Linked DNA regions of Homo sapiens: regions 1, 2 and 3 are each linked to region 4. The links are contacts of gene promoters, found by promoter capture Hi-C in blood cells and fetal thymus (Javierre and others, 2016). All regions are on one chromosome and are shown on one strand. The core of a region is centred on a gene start or on the middle of the fragment in contact, and the rest is flanking DNA. Distances in the headings are between cores, read along the strand shown. Region 1 overlaps ST7L (suppression of tumorigenicity 7 like). Region 2 holds the start of TTF2 (transcription termination factor 2). Region 3 holds the start of RHOC (ras homolog family member C). Region 4 holds the start of CSDE1 (cold shock domain containing E1).

What was found. The method cuts DNA at HindIII sites, captures the fragments that hold promoters and counts their contacts. A CHiCAGO score of 5 or more calls a contact.
Region 1: a contact is called between a fragment that was not itself captured here and the fragment with the promoter of CSDE1 in region 4, in 1 of 17 cell types (monocytes). The highest score is 6.7, in monocytes.
Region 2: a contact is called between the fragment with the promoter of TTF2 here and the fragment with the promoter of CSDE1 in region 4, in 2 of 17 cell types (neutrophils and fetal thymus). The highest score is 7.3, in neutrophils.
Region 3: the fragment with the promoter of RHOC here is called in contact with the fragment with the promoter of CSDE1 in region 4 in 1 of 17 cell types (non-activated CD4 T cells); the score reaches 5.3 in non-activated CD4 T cells.

What each region holds. Positions count from the first base shown.
Region 1 is chr1:112,613,982-112,617,597 of GRCh38, forward strand. It overlaps ST7L (suppression of tumorigenicity 7 like), which reads right to left. Exons shown (of 15, transcript NM_017744.5): 2 at 2,832-2,914. Among named protein-coding and RNA genes, the nearest start is that of ST7L, 3.4 kb to the right of the region's middle. The HindIII fragment of the contact is 5,337 bases long and covers 1-3,616 here.
Region 2 is chr1:117,058,284-117,061,773 of GRCh38, forward strand. TTF2 (transcription termination factor 2) reads left to right here and starts at 2,043. Exons shown (of 23, transcript NM_003594.4): 1 at 2,043-2,091; 2 at 2,172-2,274. The coding sequence starts at 2,064. It overlaps CD101-AS1 (CD101 antisense RNA 1), which reads right to left and starts at 1,207. Exons shown (of 4, transcript NR_110786.1): 1 at 1,090-1,207. RefSeq lists a silencer at 1,114-1,163 and an enhancer at 1,584-1,743. The HindIII fragment of the contact is 4,450 bases long and covers 1,759-3,490 here.
Region 3 is chr1:112,705,251-112,708,486 of GRCh38, forward strand. RHOC (ras homolog family member C) reads right to left here and starts at 1,877. Exons shown (of 6, transcript NM_175744.5): 1 at 1,828-1,877. RefSeq lists an enhancer at 288-337 and a silencer at 1,597-2,316. The HindIII fragment of the contact is 12,151 bases long and covers 1-3,236 here.
Region 4 is chr1:114,756,213-114,759,615 of GRCh38, forward strand. CSDE1 (cold shock domain containing E1) reads right to left here and starts at 1,772. Exons shown (of 20, transcript NM_001007553.3): 1 at 1,713-1,772. RefSeq lists enhancers at 1,169-1,488, 1,324-2,317, 1,689-1,978. The HindIII fragment of the contact is 3,696 bases long and covers 1-3,156 here.

The DNA of each region.
Region 1 (3,616 bases), core at 737-3,236, 2.1 Mb before region 4:
AGCCTCCCACAGTGTTGGCAGTACAGACACGAGACACCACACCTGGCCACAAAAAGTTTTTTACAAGGTTTTAGACATCATATATATAAGTTATCCCCCTCTTATAAATGAGGAAATTATAGCTTAGACAGTTTATGTAGCTTGCCCAAAATTATCAGCTAGTAAGTGGCAGAGTTAAGATTCAAAATTTTATCTTCTGGTTCCCAAACCAGAGCTTTTTCCACTATATCAGCTGCTTAATATTGATAGTTTCTTTAAAACAAACAAACAAAAACCATATTAAATAGAGACAGGGTCTTGTTGTTGCCCAGGCTGGTCTCAAACTTCTGGCATTAAGGGATTCTCCCACTCCATCCTCCCAAAGTGTTGGGATTACAGGTGTAAGCCACCGTGCCTGGCTTAAAGACAGTTTATCGTCTTTACTTAGACTTTTGTATGCTATGGACTAAACATGCTAAAATATGCTTATGTTAAATTATGAGGCTTATATTAACATGTAGTTTTAATCCTGAATTCCTCAATAGCTTCTATTTTTTTTAGCCAAGAGAAAAATCTCGTTCTTGTTTGGCATTTCACTTTAACAAAATGGTCTGTATTTAGTCCCTATTTAAAAAAATAGATCCAATACAAATGCTATTTCTACTACAGCTGGAGAGCACCACCTAGAGATAAAAAAAAGAACAGGCTGGGCATGGTGGTTCACGCCTGGAACCTTAGCACTTTGGGAGGCCGAGGAGAATGGATCGTTTATGCCCAAGCGTCTGAGACTACCCTGAACAACACAGTGAGACTCTGTCTCTACAAAAAATAAATAAAAATTTAAAGGGAAGAGAAAAATTTATTGGCTATGCATGGCATAAAACTTCTTAAGATTTTTATCTGCAGCAGTATTGTTCCAAAGTGTACACTAGTAAACATGACATCCTAGGGATGTTAACGTGAATTATAAAAAATATTTTATTTTTTTTAAATTAAAAATATCTTCTTCAAGGAAAAGTTGAATTAAAGTTAAACAGTTTTGTTGTTTTTGTTTTTTGAAACAGAGTCTTGCTCTGTCACTCAGGTTAGAGTGCAGTGGCACCATCTTGGCTCACTGTAACCTCTCCCTCCAGGGTTCAAGTGATCCTCCCACCTTGGCCTCTCCAGTAGCTGGGACTATAGGTGCGCCACACACGCCTAATTTTTGTATTTTTTTGAAGAGACAGGGTTTTTCCATGTTTCCCAGGCTGGTCTCGAACTCTATCACCCCACCTCGGTCTCCCAAAGTGCTAGGATTACAGGTATGAACCACTGTATCAGGCCAAACAGGTTTCTTAATTGTGAGAATTCTCAGAATAATGGCCAAAATTCATTAAGTGTACATTCTGAACCAGCTATCATGTTATAAACTTACAACATTATCTGATTTACTCTTCATAATCCTATAAAGTTCATGCTATTAACTGCCAGTTAACAGATGAGGAAACTGGGGCTTGAAAAAACTGTAAGTTGAATTCATGACACATAAATTTTAGTCTTCCCAATGTTGCCAATATTAAAATGCTGTAGTCAGACATGGTGGCACATGCCTGTAATCCCAGCTACTAGGGAGGCTGAGACGGGAGGATGGCTTGAGCCCAGGAGTTAAGGCCACAGTGTGCTATAATGGTGCCTGTGAATATCGACTGTACTCTGGCCTGGGCAACGTAGTGAGACTCCATCTCAATTTTTTTTTAATGGGCAAATTTTATATAAAAACTGTATGTCCAGGTTCTACTTATTTATTCATTCATTTTTGAGAAAGGGTTTCTCTCTGTCGCCCAGGCTGGAGTGCAGTGGCAAGATCTTGGTTCACTGTAACCTCCACCTCCCAAGTTCAAGAGATTCTTATGCCTCAGCCTTCCGAGTAGCTGGGACTACAGGCACATACCACCATACCCAGTTATTTTTTGTATTTTAGTAGACGGAGTTTCATCATGTTGGCCAGGCTGTTCTTGAACTCCTGGCCTCAAGTGATCTGCCTGCTTCAGGCTCCCAAAGTGCTGGGATTATAGGTGTTAGCCACCACGTCCGGCCTGTCTGGGTTCTCTTTAAATCATTTGAAAAATTGAAAAACCTGGTAATACTAGTTCCAAGTCTATATGGCAACAATTAGCTTTAGCCTCTTTTAGAAGGGGCATGCACTGTCCAGGCTACCCAGTCCTCAAAGAAATAAGAATTTAATTATTAAACTCTATCCATTTCACTCATTTTTGTTACCAACTTGGGCTCTGCAGGCATTTAATTTCCAACACACCCCAAGCCCTCCCTGACTACAGTTTACAATAAGCCTTTAATATGTAAATAAATACTGTCAATCTCTTAAAAGTAGATTGGGAGATGCAGTGTTCCCCAAACTTGTTTGAATAGGTAACTCTTTTCAAATGCTGAATACATTTTGGAAATGCTAATCCATAGGTAATAATAATTTATAATTATTATAACCATATAAAGGATCTTTAGGCCAGGGCGGTGCCTCACGCCTGTAATCCCAGCACTTTGGGAGGACAAGGCAGGCGGATCACCTGAGGTCAGGAGTTGGAGACCAGCCTGACCAATATGGTGAAATGCCATCTCTACTAAAAATACAAAAATTATCCGGGCATGGTGGCCGGCACCTGTAATCCCAGCTACTCGGGAGGCTGAGACAGAAGAATTGCTGGAACCTGGAAGGCGGAAGTTGCAGTGAGCCGAGATCATGCCACTGCACTCCAGCCTGGGCGACAGAGCAAGACTCTGTCTCAAAAAAGAAAAAAAAAAAATATCTTTAGATAAACACCAAAACATGAAGGAAGGAAATGGAAACTACTTACAAATATTAGTCCTGATATCAATGAAGAGGTCCCTGTAAGTGCCACATAGAATTTGGGTGTCAATGAATTTAAAAATACAGTCACTGTCAAAAGAACAAGAATCAAAGTTTTAAAAAATGCAAATTTAAAGTACTTAGGTTACAAATATGCAAGTATCTTTATGAGTGGTGGGACTTAAGTAGTATTAATATCTAGTGTGAAATTCACTTGAAAAAGTTTTAATTTGTATATATATTATACATAATGGCTTATCACTATTTGCAACAAATCAAAATGAGGTAATTCAGCTTGCTTTGGAGAATAAAACTAAAGCACTTATAAGTCATAATTTAGATAGAACTTTTGCAAGTCTGTAAGAATAAAAAGATAAATATGCTTTTACAAAGGAGGTTCAAAACTACTCCATATTTATTTTGGTAGGATACAAAACCACTGTCTCAAATTAGAGGGAAGGAAACAGCATATGTATTTGGTATATCAGCTAGAGAGGCAAAATGGCTCAAAGAGAAAAGCAACAAACAGAAATCTCCCTGAGTTACTGAAATCCTGGAGCAGATTTTTCACTTCAAATAATTATCTCATAAGTACTGTGGGTTTTAGAAAGAAAATAAAAATCTGGCCAGGTAGGATGGCTCACTCCCATAATCTCAGAGTTTTGGGAGGCCAAGGCAGGAGGATCACTGGTAGCCAGAAGTTCAAGACCAGCCTGGGCAAATAAAATAGACCCAGTCTCTACGCAAAATTTAAAACTCAGCCAGTCGTGGTGGTGCACGCCTGCAGTCCCA
Region 2 (3,490 bases), core at 793-3,292, 2.3 Mb after region 4:
CAATCTTGTAAATATGATGAGGTGGAATAAGTTGTCCAGGGACTTAACATTTTGATCTAGTATATTTTTAATTTATGGAAGAAATATTCCTCCTGTCTGTGATTTGGCTGTGCACACTTTTGTGAGGTTGGACTGGAGATACCGACTTGGGTACTTGCAGAGGAGGAGCTTCTTCCTTAACGGGATATTTAAGAGGCCCCGATTTTGCCTTGTTTCGAAAATTATTCAAGAAATAATTAATTACCATGCCCCTCTTTCTGCAAATCCTGTATTCATGGTATACTACCTCCAATACAGCATCTATTAAACATGTACAAATACATCATTTGCAAGAATAACAATCTTGGAATAATGAAAATGCTTCTACCTATTTGTTGTTCCTGTCTTATCTCTAAGTTCATCTAAGTTTCGGAAGGGTAGTTATGTATAAAGGAACTTCACTTTGGAAATTCCATTTTTCTCTAGTCCTAGAGAGTTACTGCTAACTCCATTCATTTTGACATTTAAATACTATTTTATATTGTTATTTAAGTGTTCAACATGTACTAGTTCAGTCTCCTCAAAATACTGAGTAAGTTCCTTGTGCTTAGAATAGTTGTTTCAAACTTTGTGTGTGTGAATGAATGAATTTTACATTTCTCAAGCACCTAGTCCACAACGGGCACAAAAAAGCTATTTAGTAAGTACTGTTTAATTAATAAATGATACCTCAGGTTTGTCTCCCTTCCTCCGGATCCCCATAACATGTACATTTATCACATCGCCCAGATTTCCTAGACATTACAGATTTTCTGTTCTACGGCCCCCATAAGAACAGTGCAGGTGCCACACCATATGTCTGGGACATATGGTCCTCAATAGCTGCAATATGAAACTATTTCTATTGCAATAAATCTAATATCTATTCCTCTCTGTTTACTAATAGTTTTGATTACAACTTCAAATTTTAAAAATCGAGGATGAAGTTAAATAGAAGGGAACTGTCCCCTTTCTTCTATTTAACCTCGTCTTCGATTTTTAAAATTACAAAAGCATAATAGTAAAAAAAAGTTTGACAATACAAAATGATAAAGTAAAATTCGCCTTCACCAAAAGTCATCTATTTCCCCTTCTGTGGTTTCCACGTTGCGGCTGGTAACTCGGGGCTTCCACGCTGGGCGAGCCTAGAGAACATCCAGTACACACAGGAAGCAGCAGCGCGGGCCAAATGGCGCTGAGACCTGCGCACCTGTCCACGGACCGCCCACTCGCCAACTCTGACCTTGGGTGAGTCTCTCAAACTTGAGTCTCGGAATCTTCCACAAAATGCTACCCATCTCACCAGGTCGAGTGAGGAGGGTCGTGTTATGTGTAAGCACTTTGTGAAATCTAAAGCACGAGGCAAACGTAAAGCATTGTAGGGGGTCCTAGAGAAGTCTTTGTGCCTGCCTATCAGAGCCGTTTCAGTTCCCCGCAGCAGCTTCCAAGGACCTCCCACCATGCCCGCCGCTTCGGCTCCTGCACTGCAAATCTCGCGGCTCGGCCTGCAGCGGCGGCTTCCCCTGGCCTCCCACCCCAGCGACTGAGCGCGGAGCCCAGCGCGCACGAGCGCCAGCCTGGCTCAGAGACACCCACGAAGCCAGGGCCTTTCAGCGCCTGCTAACTGGCGCTACCCCTAGGGCCGCCTCTCGGTTTTAAACGTAAACAAGAGTTGCCCTTCCGTCTTCCAAGACCTGCAAATCGAAGCTTCTTTTCCTCCAGAAGCCCCGCCACCTTCTAAGCTTCTCCCCAGCCTCAGCCACGCCCCAGCCTGCAAAAGCCGGGTCCTTTACGCCCCCTGGCTCCGTATTTGATTTCGGCGCGCGCCATACCTGAGGGCAGCTGTGATTGGTTGGAGGTGAGCGAAGTTCCTATATGATTGGCTGATAGCGGCTAGGACGGGTGAAGGCCAAGGGCGGAGAATTATGGGAGGGATTAAGACTGCAAGAGCTGAGTGATGGTTGGTTCCTGAACAAAGAGGGCGGAGTAAAAGGCGGAAGCAGAATTGGGGGCGGGGCTTTGTGGAACTTGGGGGACCCAGCGAAATGGAAGAAGTTAGGTGTCCAGAGCACGGTAAGGGGCTAGGGTCTCAGCGTCCCGGGGCCTGTTGATTTAGCGTGGCGTAATCGTTGTTCACTTTCTTCTCTCTTCAGGGACTTTCTGCTTTCTTAAGACCGGCGTCCGCGATGGCCCGAATAAAGGAAAGAGCTTCTACGTGTGCCGGGCAGACACGTGCAGCTTCGTGCGGGCCACCGAGTAGGTCTGGAGCTGGGCCCCACTCCCTGTGGCTGCCCGGGGCCTCCCGAGAGGAGCTTCCCGCTCCCCGCTGTCGGGCGTCACAGGGCCGAGGAGTGGTGGGGCCCTAGTTTGCGGTGTCAGGACCCTTTAAGCAATTGGTGATCCCAGGGCAGCGTGGCGTGTTCGGAAGACGCCCAGCTAATTCTGGCTGTGTGACCCGAGGCTGGTTACCCCCCTCTCTGGGCCGATGGTTCCCCTACCTGTAAAATTGAGGATCCGGTGTTTTCCAGCTCTGGGTTTCTATTCACTTGACAGGCCTTAACCACTCCCTTCTCCTGCCCAGACAGTCCCTCCCCCTTTAAAGGAGTAAGGACACACAGCAGACATAGTGGAAAATAATTTGTCCCTGTTTTGCACTAGTTTTAGGCCCGACGGTTTTTTTTAAATGTTTGAGCTTAAAACACTCTAGTGATTAGTTGTTAGCCTTCTTATTTTTAAGTAGGATTCTCTGCATCTAAATGGTGAAATTGATAATTCAAAGAAATTAGCGCTGGAAGAAACAACGGAGGGCCTGGCGCGGTGTGTGACGCCTGTAATCCCAGCACTTTGGGAGGCGAAGGCGAGCGAATCGCTTGAGCCCAGGGGTTCGAAACCAGCCTGGGCAACATGGTGAAATCCCGTCTCTACGAAAAATTAAAAAAAATTGTCTAGGCATGGTATCACACGCCTGTAGTCCCAGCTACTCGTGAGGCTGAGGTGGGAGGAGAGAGTCAGAAATGTTAAGCATCTTCTCTAAAGTGAGGAAAGTTAATAGTTTGTCAAGTGTTAATGTTTTCACAGTACCAAGTGTCTACATTTTCTATGTGAATTTTAAAACTATCATCACATCATTAAACATCTCCTGCTCTCTATTCAGCAAAACTTGGTAGAGAAAAGTTATTTTTCTCCGTGTCAGATGTAGAGTACATAATGGATATCAGTATTAGAAAAGTGCCCTTTCAACATGTATACTAACTTCCCATGTTTCTGTTTCATGAGTTAGATGATTTACACTGAGCCTCTCAGATATAGTACCCAGGTCAAGTTTTGTGAGATAGAAGCATTTTTACCTTTGCAGGAATTCAACATTAATGGTGGCATAAGATTTGGTTTTACATTAAGAGAAACACTCTTATTTAGGATCCCATCTACACAAATGCTTTGCTATACAAACTAGCACAGTGGTATTTGAAGA
Region 3 (3,236 bases), core at 627-3,126, 2.1 Mb before region 4:
AACCAGGCAGGGAGCAGTTAAGAAAGCGACGGTAACCTGATCTCAGCCTCAAACCTAGCTTTTTCTCTCAGTCCCACATCCTGTCAAACTGGGCTGACTGAACGCCTCTACTCCCCACACCCCACCACCACCTCACACTGCCCTTTAGGAAGCGAATACTCCAGCCCCAGGCCTCTTCCCTTCAACATAGATCCTGAGTGGCCCTTCCCTTGCCTCCAGACACATTCACAAAACTGTTGGTTTTGTGGACATGAGTCAGAGAATTTACAGGAGTTCAAAGTACACAGCCACACTCTTCCCACCACAAAACGGACTCTCTCTGATTCCCCAGAAGACAAGCAAGAAGGCATTCACCCTGTCGGCAGATCGCCTCCAGAAATGGAAACCATCCTCCAAAAAGAGGGTTCCTTGGGAATTCTATCCCGGTGACTGACGCTGGGATTTCTTCCAACTCCTCCACCCACTCCATTAGTTCACCTTGCCCTGTTTTGTAAAGATGGGCTGGGGTAGCCCCAACCTGGGGTGGGCAGTGTTGATGGAGGGCAATCACTACTGGGGTGAAAGCCAGTCACTTAGGCATGAGTATGCCACTGCTGTCCCCCCAGCAGGGTAATTCAGACGGCACCAGAGTGGTGGGAGGCAGAGGACAGAAACCCGGGGTTGAGGCATGCGTTAAGGGACCTGGAGCCTCCAGCCCAATTAGAAGACTTTCCCTCCAGGCTATGATTGGGCCAGAACAGCAGGCAGCCCAGGCCAGGACACTAGGCCCAAGGCCAAGATGGCATGGACAACTCCCTGTGAGAGGCAGCCCCAGAGGGACTGTCCCACTGACCCCTTAAGAGGGGCAACTGAGCCCCACACAGGGCCTGGAATGGAGCCTGGAACTTCTGGGGCCTTCCCCAAGACAAGACAGTGTGGCTACATCAGACCTCTCTCCAATCGCTCTCTTGAATTCCCAGATGATCCAGAGCGGCCGGTTGACTTTGCCGGCCCACCCTACACCTAGGGAAGGAATCCGTTCTGGAGATACCAAGAGATACTGCATTCTCAACTTTAAAACCAGAGTGAGGGCGGGACTCGGCCTCGGGATCCCAGTCCCAAACCCCAGGATACTCTTTCTTGGTTCGAGTATGAAGAAGGAGGATTCTCAATCTCATTTTCTCTCTCTCTCTCTCTCTCTACACACACACACACACACACACACACACACACACCACACACACACACACACACACACACACACACACACACACACACACACACACACACACACACACACACACACACAGAGTTGGATCCTTCCCCATCTCCCTTATCCTCAACACAAGCGGGCTCCAGGAACCGTCCAGGGCGGCGTCCAGACCCTGCCGAGCAGTGGCAGGCCCCAATGGTCACATCCCGCCCCTATTCCCGCCATACCTCCCTCCTGGCCTGGAGGAATTCCCACCCCATCCCACTCTAGGTCCCCTGCGGCCGCCCACCCTGGGGGCTGGGGCGTCTGAGTTGAAGTTCCCTCGCCCCTCGCCCGGCGGGGCAGGTTCCGGGAAGCTGGGAGGAGAAGGGAAGGGGCTCCGACTCGGACCTCAGGAGGCCAGAGCCCCTGCCGGCAGGTCCGGGCCCCCTCGCTGCAGCCCGGGGAGGGGCCGACGCGGTCCGACCACCGCCCAGCCCGGATGCCGACTCCGCTTGGAGGGAACGGGGTCCACGCCCAGGCCGAAGCCCCTCCTCGCACGGGCCCCGATCTCCGGGCCAGCGAGGAAGGGAAAGTGCTCTCCTGGGGACGAGTTCCCAAGACGCCCCACCGCCCGCAGCCCCGGCCCAGGGTACCTTCCGCTCCGCCGCCTCCAGCTGCGCGGCCGGTGCCGGAGGCTCAGACTGACCCCAGGGCCCCGCCCCGCCCTCCTCCAGCGCCGCGGCGGGGAGGGCGGGCCCGGCAGGGGGAGGGTCGGCCGGGGGCGGCCCTTGGCTCGGCCCGCCCCGGCCCCGCGCAGGGCCGCAGCCACCGGCCCCCTCCGCAGGCCGGGGACTGGGGGCCAGGGGCGTCCACCCCTCCAGGTCGGGGAGAGCCACGGGGAGATTCCTGGACTGCGGAGGAGCCGGGCGAGCGGGGGGAGCACGACCCGGGTGGACTCAGACTCTGCCCAGCCTTCAATCCCCTAGGGGAGGACCGGCGTCGGGAAAGTTAAGAGGTGCTCGGGGTGGGGTCAGGAAGGGCCGCTGCTGCCCTCCTGTGGCCAAGCGGCCACCCGCTCCTGCTGCACCTGGGACCTCGCGGGAAGCGGGACTGGGAAAGGGTATCCGCCGGGAGGTCCCAGGGCCCGGCGCGGGTGTGTTGGTTGGGGGGAGATGTCCACCCTCTTGTTCCTAGGATCGTACAGCCCAACGTCATCCCCCAAACTTGAAGACCTCTCAGAGCCGTTCAGACCCAGACCACCGTTCCTCCTCACAATTCGCTTTCTTCCCTGGGCCTGGAATTTCCAGGAGTCCAATTCCTACCTACTCCTCAAAGGGTGCGCCTAGAAATGCTTCTGGATCCCAGCTGTGAATTCTGTTCCCACTCCTAGGTCTGACTTGGCGCATAGGATATTTACCTACACGCGTATCTCCTTTCCCTGTAAGGGAGCTGAGGAGGTGGGAGTAGAATGAGGACGTCCACCAACATTTCATTGGCTTGTGCTTGGGACACTACACAGCTTAACCCTTTCAATATTCATCACAGATCTCTGGGGAAAATATACCCATCCCCTTTTGCCCATAGAGAAGCTGAGGTTCAGAGAAATCAAGTGGCTTACACAACTGTTTTTGACTTGTGACAGCAAGAATTCACACAGCCGGGCCTGTCTGGCTCCAAACTGGTGGTCTGGCCCTGCTACCTCACGGGCTCCTCCAGCCTGTCCCTTCCCCCGTTGTCTAGCAGAGTGAGTGGCACATAATAGGTTGTCAACAAATATTTGATGAATGAATGAATGTTAGGAGTCATACAGACTTTAAATATCTGAAGTGCAATCCAGACATTTGACAAATGTGAAAACAGGTCCGCAGCAGTTTGGCCCCAGGCCTCTTAACTGACTCAATGAACATTTCTCGAGGGTGAACTGAGAGCTATGTTCGGAAGATCCATTTCTGCCTTCAAACAACTTAGAGTCTAAATGAGGAATGCAATTTCAAGATAGCTAACATTTATTGAATCCATATTACATGGACCTGGGTCCACATACATTAACTACAAGAATCCC
Region 4 (3,403 bases), core at 522-3,021:
ATACTTTAGTTTTCAACTCAGCTGCTATAAATAATCATCTCGATGGTAAACATCCAGAACAGCTGCAAAACCAAACTATTACCTTCTCTTTTATTTTAGTCCCAGGGCTAAAACGAAACAAAAAGAAGGCCAAATATTTATCTAAGTTTTATGACTCAGGTATATCCCTACTGAAGTATATAAAGCCCCTCCTTACCCACACCAAGGATATCCATTATTGGTTAGTACCAAAAGAAAACCAAGGTATGTATTATAGTGCTCCTCAATGCAATATCAAGAATGTTTGCCTTTAGTTACTCAAAATGAAAATTACTCAGCATTTTAGTATAGAGTAGCTTATATCTGTGGGCTATAATTTGAAACCTACATTCTAAAAAAGTAGGTTAGTAGCAGTGGCTGAGAACTGCCAGTTCATACCAGCCTGATGAAAATTTAAGCCTCTCAAAAAGATTTAACTACCACAGTGCCTTTGAGCATTCTCCCTCTCCGCCCTGTCTCCCAACTGTTTAAAGAGCGCCATATTCTTTTACTCATTTAAGGTGCAAAACACGAAAATTAACTTGCCCAACAACGTTCAGATATTCTTTGCAGATTCAAGCCTGTTTCAGGGAGCGTTCTCTGCTTCACCTGTGAGTTAAGCAAGACGGCCGCCATCTGGGTGTTTCTAAGGGAAAACCTTAAAGCAAAAGAACCTTGGCACTAAGATTTCGTATTGATAAAATAGCATGGCAAAAATTTGAAGCTGTCTCCGACGGGGGAACTCTAAAACATTCTACATAGAATGACGAAGCCAGGCCGTTCATTGCACAATGTGGGTGGGCCAGGCGCTGGCACCATGAGAACTACAGGAGGTGGAAGGGAGGACACTACTGAGCTTTCAGGGCGCACGCCCATTCCCCAAGATAGAGGGGTGGGAGCCACGTGCCTAAAAGATTAGGGACTGGTTCCCTTTCTCAAGACGCCGAAGGGGAGACAATGAGGGGAAGGTTGGGTGCTGAGACCCTGCTCTAGGTGACTGGAGTAACGATGTCAATTCCGCCACACTACTGTGCCAGATGTGGCTGGGGAAAGGTGTCTTTAAACACTTCCCCTAAGATATCTAGATGGAGCAGGGTCTCAGTCTATACACAAAGAAGGCGCCACTGCCGCACTGCGCTCTGGTACTGGTAGTCAGATTCCCAAGCAGGTAACGGCCAGGAAACTACAGGGTCCAGAGTCAAAGTAGGCCCCTCTTCTCGGTCTCAGGCTCTTCCAACCTCACACAAAGGACCGCGCCACCACCCCCTCGCCCCGCCCGCCGGGACATGTAGTTCCCGTTTCCCCAGACAAGCCGCAGATGGGGAAGCAGCCAGACTACAGATCCCAGCAGCCTCCGCGCCCGAGCCCCGCACCCTCTGCCTCCATCTTGGCTGCTGTCGGAGCCTCCATTTTCGCTCCCTCCCCCCACTTTAGTCACCACCACCACTACCACCACGCGCAGCCGGCTGGCCTCAACTCCTCGTTTCAGCTCTGCGACCTGACATGAGGCCCAGGCAGTTGAACGGGAGACGTATGAAAAAGCCCAGGGCAGGGAATCGGGGTGCATTCTTCCCCACCTAGAGCTCTACGAGTGCCCACCTTGACTCAGAAGGCTTCTCGTTAGCCTTGGTCTTATTCTCAGCCCTTCCCCTGGGTTTCTGCTACCCCCAGTTGGACCCTGAGGTCGTACTCACCCCAACAGCTCAGCGCCCCCTCTCCAGCGCCGCCATAAGCAGCACGGCCCGGTACGTAGGAATAAATCTCGCTTCTCTCGCGAGAGTTGCGGGCTCCGGGCGCGTGCACGAGAAGGGGCGGAGTGAAGCGTACTCTCAACACGCTTGCGCAGCAGGGCTAAGTGACGCCAAGCAGTTTGCTGCACTTAACCACAACCAACATGGTGGCTGCATTACATTACATTCCTTCTTGGGTGTGCTGCGGGAAGCAATCTCGGTGTTTACTGACTCCTCCTGGACACTAGGGGTGGCGGGTGGCTTTAGGCGTCTCTAGTCTTCGAGCGTTTGAATACGTTTTAGCCCACAATAATGGGGTAAACCTTGAAGGCCAACAATTCTGATGGCATATTCAGGAGTCATAAAAAATGATTTATCTTTTCCCAGCAAAAATCCGGAAGGACCTCACACTCGTTTCTTCTTATAGTGCAAGCATTCTTTCTTACGTCTACTGTTTTAGAGGAATTTCATTAGTATAGAGTCAGCTTTGTAGCAAGGTAATTTAGAAATCTAAATGAGACCTTTGTTTTCCACGAAAAACATTGCAACAGATGCACAAGAGTGAGCAAGGCTGCATAATCACTAAACAAAATGAAACAAATTCAGTCAACTGACCTTTCAAGTTACGAAAGATATTCCTGTTGTGTCAGGTAATCAAAGAGGGTGGATCAGTAATTAAAAGGTTGAAATAAGAGCAAAGAGATGATTCATCCAATGGGGGAAGAAGGAAGGAGAAAAATGGGTAATTATGACCACAGGAAGTTCAATGGATTATCCCCTGCCAGACAGTAGAGCATGCTCCTCTGGTGAGAGGAATGCTTTTCCCAGATTCAATGCTTCTGTTTTCACAGATTCACTGGCTCTCTCACTTGACAGTATTGGATAAATAATGAGCAGCCAGTCTTCTGAGAACTCTCCTACCCACTTTTTGCTTACAACACATTTATTTGACATGTTGTATGTGTAACCACTGGGAAGTATACAGTTGTAAAGAAAATCGGATATAGACTTGTCCTCAAGGAACTTTTAGTCTAGCATCATTGATGATCACAAAAACAAATCTAAACATACACATTGGAATAAGTGCAATGAAGGAAAGACAACCTTCAATTCAACCTCTTGAATTCTAAGAGGAGGCCGTGTCCCATTTCTGTTCAAAAATTTCCTCACCACCTTTGTTGCTGGTGTCCAGTCCCATGTATAACACCTCAAAACTGCCTTTTTGCTCTCTTTGATGCCTTCCCACGCTTTCCTAAGCACAAATATTTGCTTCATTTTCAATGCTTTCATAGCTCACTCTATTGTAATTATTAGTTTTTACTAGGTAGTAATACTCTAGCACAGAGCTTATGAAATTCATCTTTGCATCCCTGGTTGTTGACAGTGCCCGCTCTCAACAACTCTCAAAAGCTTGTTGAATAAATAGCACTGGACAACAGTATGATAAGTTGTTAGAAATTGGAATATATTTCTGGGAAACTACAGAATGTAAATTTTTTTTTTTTTCAGATGGAGTTCACTCGTGTTGCCTAGGCTGGAGTGCAATGGCATGATCTCAGCTCACTGCAACCTCCGCCTCCCGGGTTCAAGCAATTCTCCTGCCTCAGCCTCCTGAGTAGGTGGGATTACAGGCGTGCACCACCACACCCGGCTAA